Regions from separate parts of the Homo sapiens genome. Here region 1 is linked to region 2. The links are contacts of gene promoters, found by promoter capture Hi-C in blood cells and fetal thymus (Javierre and others, 2016). All regions are on one chromosome and are shown on one strand. The core of a region is centred on a gene start or on the middle of the fragment in contact, and the rest is flanking DNA. Distances in the headings are between cores, read along the strand shown.

Region 1 (3,968 bases), core at 936-3,435, 530 kb after region 2:
ACAAAAAGACAAACATCACATGTTCTTACATGAGATCTAAAAATCAAAACAATTGACCTCATGGAGAGAGAAAGCAGAAGGATGGTTACCAGAAGCTGGTAAGGTTAGTGGGAGGTGGGAGTGGGTGGGTAGGGATGGCTAATGGGTACCAAAAAATAGTTAGAAAGAATAAGACCTAGTATTTGATCGCACAATAGGGTGACTATAGTCAATAATAATTGTACATTTCAAAATAAAAGAATATAATTGGATTGTCTGTAACACAAAGGATAAATACTTGAGGGAACAGATACCCCATTTTATATGATGTGACTATTATGCATTGCATGCCTGTATCAAAATATCTCATGCATCCCATAAATATATACACCTACTATGTACCCACAAAAATTAAAATTAAAAAAATTTTTCAATCAGTGAAAAAACATAAACTTACACTCATGTCTGACTGAGGAATCCATATTAAATGGCTAAGTAAACAAATAATTATAAGAAGGGGAGCTACTGTATGAGTCTAAGGTTTAATGGCATTAGGTTCCAGTAGCCTCATGTGTACTCCTTTACAAAAGAAATATTATAGGCTGGGCACAGTGGCTCACACCTGTAATCCTAGCACTTTGGGAGGCTGAGGCGAACAGATCACAAGGTCAGGAGTTCGAGAGCAGCCTGGCCAATATGGTGAAACCCTGTCTCTACTAAAAATACAAAAAAATTAGCCAGGTGTGGTGGCGGGCGCCTATAGTCTTAGCTATTCAGGAGGCTGAGACAGGAGAATTGCTTGAACCTGGGAGGCGGAGGTTGCAGTAACCTGAGATCATGCCACTGTACTCCAGCCTGGGTGACAGAGCAAGACTCCATCTCAAAAAAAAAAAAAAAAAAAAAGAAAGAAAGAAATATTATGAAAGTGAATTGTCATTACTCTGTTTAAGTCCTTTCAATGGCTCCCTATTGCTTTTAGCATAGTCTAAAATGTTTATGATTCTGTATTATATGGTAGCTGCTATCCCTCGAAACTTCAAGTTGCCTTTCACACACAGTACGCCTTCAGTACTTAAACATCTCCTAGTTCCTTGCTATGATAGGACCATTCATCTATTCTCTTTTCTCTCTTATAGTACTCTTTCAGAGTTTGCCTAACTCCTCCTTTTTTGGGAATCAGCTTAAATGTACTTCTCTAACCTATTCTCTAAAATAGCTTAAAGTATTAAGGTCCCCTATTAGAGGCCCTCATAGTCCTGTACTTTCCCTTTGAAGTTCTTTGTATCACACCCACCCTCACCACCACCAATACTGCTAAACTGTAAGCTTCATGAGTACAGGGATCTTGTCTATCTTGTTACGCTCCCAGAGCCTACTACAGTGCCTCACACATAAAAGACAAATAAAATATTTATTGATTGAGTGAGCCACTGCGCCCAGTCCAAGTTTTCCTTCTCTACTGGATTATTCCTATTAATATACAAACATGTCTCATCTCACCTTTCAAAAAAAAGAATTCTCCCTTGACTCCTTTTCTTCCTGTTTCTAGGAATGGTTAGAATATGTTTGACAAGGCCAGGCACAGTGGCTCATGCTTGTAATCCCAGCACTTTGGGAGGCCGAGGTGGGCAGATCACCTGAGGTCAGGAGTTCAAGGCCAGCCCAGCCAACATGGTGAAACTCTGGCCTCTACTAAAAATACAAAAAATTAGCTGGGCATGGTGGCGGGTGCCTGTAATCCCAGCTACTCAGGAGGCTGAGGCACGAGAATTGCTTGAGCCTGGGAGGCAGAGGTTGCAGTGACCCCAGATTGCGCCACTGCACTCCAGCCGGGGCGACAAAGCGAGACTCTGTCTCAAAAAAAAAAAAAAAAAAAAAAAACAGAAAAGGAAAAAAAATAAAAAGACAAGCTATAAATTGAAGACATATTCAACTCACACAATTTTGTATTTTAAAACTTGTATAAATTAGTTAAAAAAAGCAAATAATCCAACAGAAAAATGAGCAAAAGACATGAGCCAGCATTTTTACAAAAGACACAAATAGTCCATAAAGTTAGACGCTCAATTTTATCAGTAACCAAGGGAAATGAAAACAAAAACCACAATGAACTATCATGTCACACTCACTGGAACGGCAAAAACGTAAGGCCAGATGGTACCAAATGTGTTGCCAAGGATATGGGGCAAGGAAATGGCTGGTGGGAGTGTAAATTGATACAAATATTTTGGTAACAGTCTGACATTTCCAAATAATTTTGGAGATGTGCATATCAAGTGATCCAACATTTCATTCATTGGTAGATTCCCTAGGGAATGTACATGCCCTTGTGAATATACAATAGGAAGCATGTTATAAGAATGCTTACAATAGCAAAAAATTAGAAACATTCAAATATTCACCAATAATGGAATGGATAAATTGCAGTAAACTCATAGAGTAGAATGTTATACAGGATATACATCAAATGAATGGATCTAGAGATGATGATTTTCAAATTATTTAACAACTGGGCAGCACAGGCATTGACCAATCAGAATAGATGCCAAACAACAACAGGTACAGCCATACAAGCACACACCAGTTGACTATAAGCAATGTATGAATCTGAAAACTAAAAGAATTCATGGAAGAGGCTGAGCTCACACCTGTAATCCCAGCACTTTGGGAGGCTGAGGTGGGTGGATCACCTAAGGTGAGGAGTCCAAGATCAACCTGGCCATCATGGTGAAACCCCGTTTCTACTACAAATACAAAAATTAGCTGGGTGTGGTGGCGGGCACCTGTAATCCCAGCTACTTGGGAGGCTGAGGCAGGAGGATCACTTGAACCCAGGAGGCGGAGGTTGCAGTGAGCTAAGATCATGTCACTGCAATCCAGCCTAGGCAACAGGAGCGAAACTCTGTCTCAAAAAAAAAAAAAAATTCATGAAAGAAAACATATGCTATGATTCAAAACCAAATAATATATTGTTTAGAGATGTATGTGAAGTAAAATTATAGAGAAAAGAAATTTAAGATAGTGGTAACCTGTATGAGTGGGGGTAGTGGGAGCAATGTAATCAATGCAGGATAAAAGGAAGCTTTTATCCTGCATAATAAACAATAAAGGTATTGTTTATTTCTTAATCTGGAAAGTAAACAGTTGTTTATATTTAAATAATACTTATTTTATACATTCTATTGTATATATATTTCAAATTCAAAAATTAAGTAAATAAAATTTTAAGAAACGAATATTAAGTAGCTCACAGAATCATCAGGGAGGCTGGAGAACCAGCCTCTGGTCGATGCAAGGAAGAGTGAGGTGTGAAACCATGCCAAGAGAGCAGGTCTGTGGTCACTGGTGCACACCACACTGCTGCCTTTTATGCAAGGAAACTTGATCTTCCTAAACTGTATTGCAGGCTAAGAATCTTCTAGAGGTCGTGGTTTTTTATATCTTTATTCCGAAGTCCAAATCTAGCACAGATTCATCTAACCAATGGAGTCCTAGCCACTTGCCTGCAACCTAGCTGCAAGTAAGGCAGGAAAAGTTAGTACCTGACTTTCAGGTATTTTTATTGGGCACCTACTATGAGCTGTAACCAGTTCTAGACATTGAGGATACAACAGAGAACAAGTTACATATCTTATATTTTATGAGGATAAGTAGGAGACAACTAGAATAAATACCCTGACAATATTCACTCACTAGGGGAATACCACAAATAGAGAAAGGTGGTTTATATTCTGGTCATTTAAAAAGAATGATAAATGTCTTCCATATAACATAGATGACCAATGTGATCATTTATGAATATATAAAGTAGAACTATTAGGTTAAAGAGAAAACACATCTTACATTTTTGATACACATTGCTAAATTTCTCCTCAAAAAGGTTACACAAACTTGTACTCTTATTACCAGTGTACTAGTAATTCATTTCTCCACACTCTTTGCCAGAATTCTTTCTCATCTTTGCAAATTGGAGAAGAAAAACCTCATTG
Region 2 (4,426 bases), core at 1,207-3,706:
ATTGTTTACATTTAAATCTTTGACATATCTGGAGTTTTTGCTAGTGTATTGTATAGGGTATGGATCCAACATTTTTTCTAGATAGCCCATTTGTCTGAATGAGAAACTTTTTTTTTTTTGAGACGGAGTCTTGCTCTTGTTGCCCAGGCTAGAGTGCAATGGCGTGATCTAGCTCACCACAACCTCCACCTTCCGTGTTCAAGCGATTCTCCTGACTCAGCCTCCCGTGTAGCTAAGAATTACAGGCATGCGCCACCTTGCCCAGCTAGTTTTGTTATTTTTAGTAGAGAGGGGGTTTTTCCATGTTGGTCAGGCTGGTCTCAAACTCCCGACCTCAGGTGATCCACCCGCCTCGGCCTCCCAAAGTGCTGGAATTGCAGGTGTGAGCCACCTCGCCCGGCCCTGAATGGGAAACTTTTTACTGCTGTCATTCTTGGACTATCCTCCACATGCACGTGGATCATATTTCTGTTTGCTCAGCCCAGACATCAGAACTCAGATGCCTGTAGAGACTAGGCAAGTTACATAAAAGGGTGAAGAGTGCCAGGTGGGAAGTATAGCCAACTGGAAATGGATGGCATATTTTTATAAAGAGGGCAGCCACTACCCGGTGCCTGCTGATTACTCTCTTGCACGAATGCAGTAGGTCCCAGTGTTGCCAGATCTTTGTCAAGAGAAGCTGAAAATATACATTTTTATATGAAGCCTCTTGATTTTAAAATGTTAACAATTAAATTTAAATACAGCCTTAGCTAAACAAAATATGTCTTCAGGCCTGACTTGGCCCAGAAAAGCCTTCTGATATTCCTAGCCAAGAATGAGATTTCTAACAAGTTTACTCTCCTATGAGTAAAGAGAACATACATGGTCTAGTAGTTTGACATCACAGTAGTTTATAGCTGGAGTCTGGGAACAGGAGAGAAAAGTAAGGACCCTCTATATAAGCCAAAGTCTTCGCTCTCACAGACTGAAACATTAATGGGAGAAATACAAGCATTTTACCATCCCACCTTTTATCCCAAGTACATGTGAATGGATATGGCCATTTATTAGAGGATGTTCTTGATTTAGTGGATACTTTAGTGGATTAGAAAAATAATCTTATTTTCCAACTCTGCCATTCTGATTTTGCCCAAATGAAAAAGTGGTGCATGTTTTGGGGAGAATAATTGCTCAGCTACTGATGCCGGAACTGAATTGTAGTACTGACTTATTTTTTGTACCCTGTTCGTCTTTTCCCTTTCTCACTGCTGGTGGCTAGGGACAGGGAGTAAAATATCTTCTTTACAACCTGTTAAAAGTAATGTGCTCAGCCTCTTTAGTGGGATGAAATTTGTGGTAATGAGTTACCAGAGCCTATGCCTCTTTGGATTGAAAAGCTTGTCAGGATCTTTTCTGGGTTGCTAATGAGTGTTTCCTAGACGCCGATCCAGGTTTTGTAGGACCTGAAGCCTACACAATTTGGATGACACGATTAAGAAAACAATTCGAAAATATCTTGAAAGTTTTGTAAAAACGATATGATTTTGTGAACGCACAGGGGCCCGTGCAAGTGAAGGACCTTTCAATTCAAGCTTGATCAACGTCACTGTCATCTGCCCCTTCTGACCCTACCACCAGGCTAAGGGCTTTCCACGCCTCATCTCTCGGTCCCCACACCATCACCCTAAGAAATAGTTACTGTATCTCCTAACGATATATTATATATAGTACCTACTTTGTGTAAACATACGGTACTCATGAAAACAAGCCACGTAGAGCACAAATACGTTAAATATCCTGTCCAGCCCGAATGCCCCTTTCTCTCCACGTCCCTATGCAGCCTCCCACGACGGTAGTCCTGGGGCTCCAGCGCTACAAGAGTGGCACCGAGTCCGGATTGTCTTAAGCAGGTCGAGAGGAGGGAGCATATGGGTAAAAAGCAGTCAAACTGAAGAGTCTGGAGCGGCCCCCAGCACAGTCTCGGGAAAAGCGGACTCCCCCGGGGCCCCAGGCCCCGCACCCCCGCGCCGGGCTGGCGCCTGTGCCTGCTCCGCGGCGCGCATGCTCCGTGTTAGGCCTCTTGGGCTATTCGGGATAATGAGCGCCGGGCCGAGGGGGCGGGCCGAGCCTCGGCTGCTGGGACTCAGGGCTCAGCGGCGACCCCAAGGCACTCTGCGCTGCTGCTAAAGGGGCAGCAACGGCGGCCAGCGCTGTGCGCGCCATAGCGAGGCTCGCTCGCCCGACGCGCACTCCGGGTCGGTCCCCAGAGCTCTGTGGAGGTGACTCGAGTGGGCAGGGCCGGGCGGCGCTGTCGGCTGGGAGGGCGGGGAGGAGGCGATGAGGAGACGAGCAGCCGCCGCCGCCGCCGCCGCTGCTCACCGCCCGCCGCGGCCGTAGCGGGAGTCGGGGCGGGGCTGGGCCAGCTGTACCCCTGACGGGCCGCGAACCCAGACAAAGGAGGAGGAGCCGCCCCAGAAGCGGGCCAGCGCCGCCGGGAAAGGAGGTCGCCGCCCGGGGTCGCCCGGGCTTGCGGGTCGCCGCGCTTCCTCTGCGGGCGCTGCGGGAGGCGAGGGCCGCCTCGGCGGAGGAAGCCGACCCCGGGGTCTCCGCCAGCCCGCCGGCGCCGCCTCCGAGCCGCCTCGGCCGTAGCCTCGGCCCGGGCGGGAGGCGGCGGCCGCCGGCGAGGCGAGGCGGCCCGCGCCCTGCCTGTCAGGCCACCGGCCCGGCCCGCGGGCTGCCCCCGATGCGGAGGCGCTGTCGCCGGGGCCATGCAGCAGGCGCCGCAGCCTTACGAGTTCTTCAGCGAGGAGAACAGTCCGAAATGGCGGGGACTGTTGGTCTCGGCCCTGCGGAAGGTCAGTGCTAGGGGCGGGGCGGCCGGCGGGTGGCCCGTGGCCCCCCGAGCTTCTAACGGGGAGCAGGTCGTCCCTCCCACAGGGCTCGAGTCCCCGGGGCCGAGCCGTTTCTCGTTGGCTGGCAATGGGGGGCTCACAATTGCCTGTTGCATTCTGAAGGACGTTTCTCAAGTTTTTTTTTTTTGCCTGGTCCCGGAAGGAAGGTTTTGTTATGATCATAAAACTGGATTTCATGTTGCAGTCATTTCGTCAGGCAACTTCCGCCGTTGACCAATTTGTTGTCCTCAGGCTGGAATCGGGCAAGAGAAAGTCCCGCTGGTATTTAGACAGTTTCTAAAACAAAAGCACATTTTCAGGCCGGGTAATTACTTTTAATTAAGTTCTTTGGGAGTGTTCCCCCTAGGCGGTTTGCTTGTCAAGGGTATCCACTTATGAGGCAATGGTTTTTTGTAATATGGATGTTTCACATGTGTGAAATGTCAGTGAGTCATAATATTCTTATTCATTTTACAGTTCTCAAGGTAAATTTAAAGCGCCTTCCCACTTCCTGCAAACGGTGTCTTACCTGTTTACAAGAGATTACCCTTAGAAAATTTGGTCAGTGTCTTCAGTGTCTTCACGACCAAATTGCGATTTAGGACTTGAAATCATTTTAAGGAACAAGAAAGGGGCAACTCCTGCAAATCAGTCTTTCATGTTTGGGTGCATTGCTAGGGTGCATCTTTCCTGTAGATGGTGGCGGTCTTCCTCTGTGAATTTAGGTAGTAACCATACGATCATTTTTATAATAAATCCTTCTGTAAGATCAAGACATTTAAAGACTGTGAATAGGTGCGTGATCAGCTGTCATGCCTGTTGAGCAGGGGCTTTCTTTCTTTGCCGTTAATGCAGACTTAGTCTCTTCTGCCTTTTGTGCAAAATAACCAAGAATACATTCTAAAATAAGGAAAAAATAAAGATTAATTTAAAAGACTATACTTGGAAAATATATCCTCAGACATTAAATTTCTATAAATGAAAGGAAGTAGTGTATTTTAAAGTTAAAGACATTTTCCTCATGCGATGAGAGTTGCAGATTTTCCCTTATTTTCATAATTCTTACAAGGAAGTATTGCTTTCCTCAGGGCAAACACTAAGTCGTATCTTTTTAAAGAACCTGGCAGAAATGACTAGTGGCAGCTAGACAGTTATTCCATTGGTATACCAAGTGCTAAAGTATTAAATTGACCTTACTTCCATGTGCAGCCCAATTCTGTAAGGAGAGGGAAAGAAATGAAAAGTGTGCTGAGTGGTGAAAATGAACTCTGGCCTGAATTAAAAGCAAAGGGGGAAATGCCTAGATAGTAATTAGCCCTTTGACCACAGACAAGTGTGAGTGCAGTAATCAGGTAGGCCTATATTGTTGGCAATGTGACGCAGGTATATACCCATTTATAACTTTCTGGTAGCAAATAGTATTTGGGTGTGTGTTGCATAACTTGTTCAATAGGTAGCTTTGATTCTAATAATCCTTTATGTCCAGAAACAGATTTATGTTTTCTTTTTCTTCAAATAGAGACAGGGTTATGCTATGTTGCCCAGGCTGGTCT

What was found. The method cuts DNA at HindIII sites, captures the fragments that hold promoters and counts their contacts. A CHiCAGO score of 5 or more calls a contact.
Region 1: a contact is called between a fragment that was not itself captured here and the fragment with the promoter of SOS2 in region 2, in 2 of 17 cell types (non-activated CD4 T cells and M2 macrophages). The highest score is 6.9, in non-activated CD4 T cells.

The regions. Positions count from the first base shown.
Region 1 is chr14:49,702,280-49,706,247 of GRCh38, reverse strand. All of the region lies in intron 1 of KLHDC1 (kelch domain containing 1), which reads right to left. Among named protein-coding and RNA genes, the nearest start is that of KLHDC1, 11 kb to the right of the region's middle. The HindIII fragment of the contact is 1,756 bases long and covers 1,308-3,063 here.
Region 2 is chr14:50,229,608-50,234,033 of GRCh38, reverse strand. It overlaps SOS2 (SOS Ras/Rho guanine nucleotide exchange factor 2), which reads left to right and starts at 2,456. Exons shown (of 23, transcript NM_006939.4): 1 at 2,456-2,837. The coding sequence starts at 2,751. RefSeq lists an enhancer at 1,545-1,634 and a silencer at 1,785-2,864. The HindIII fragment of the contact is 6,352 bases long and covers 1,577-4,426 here.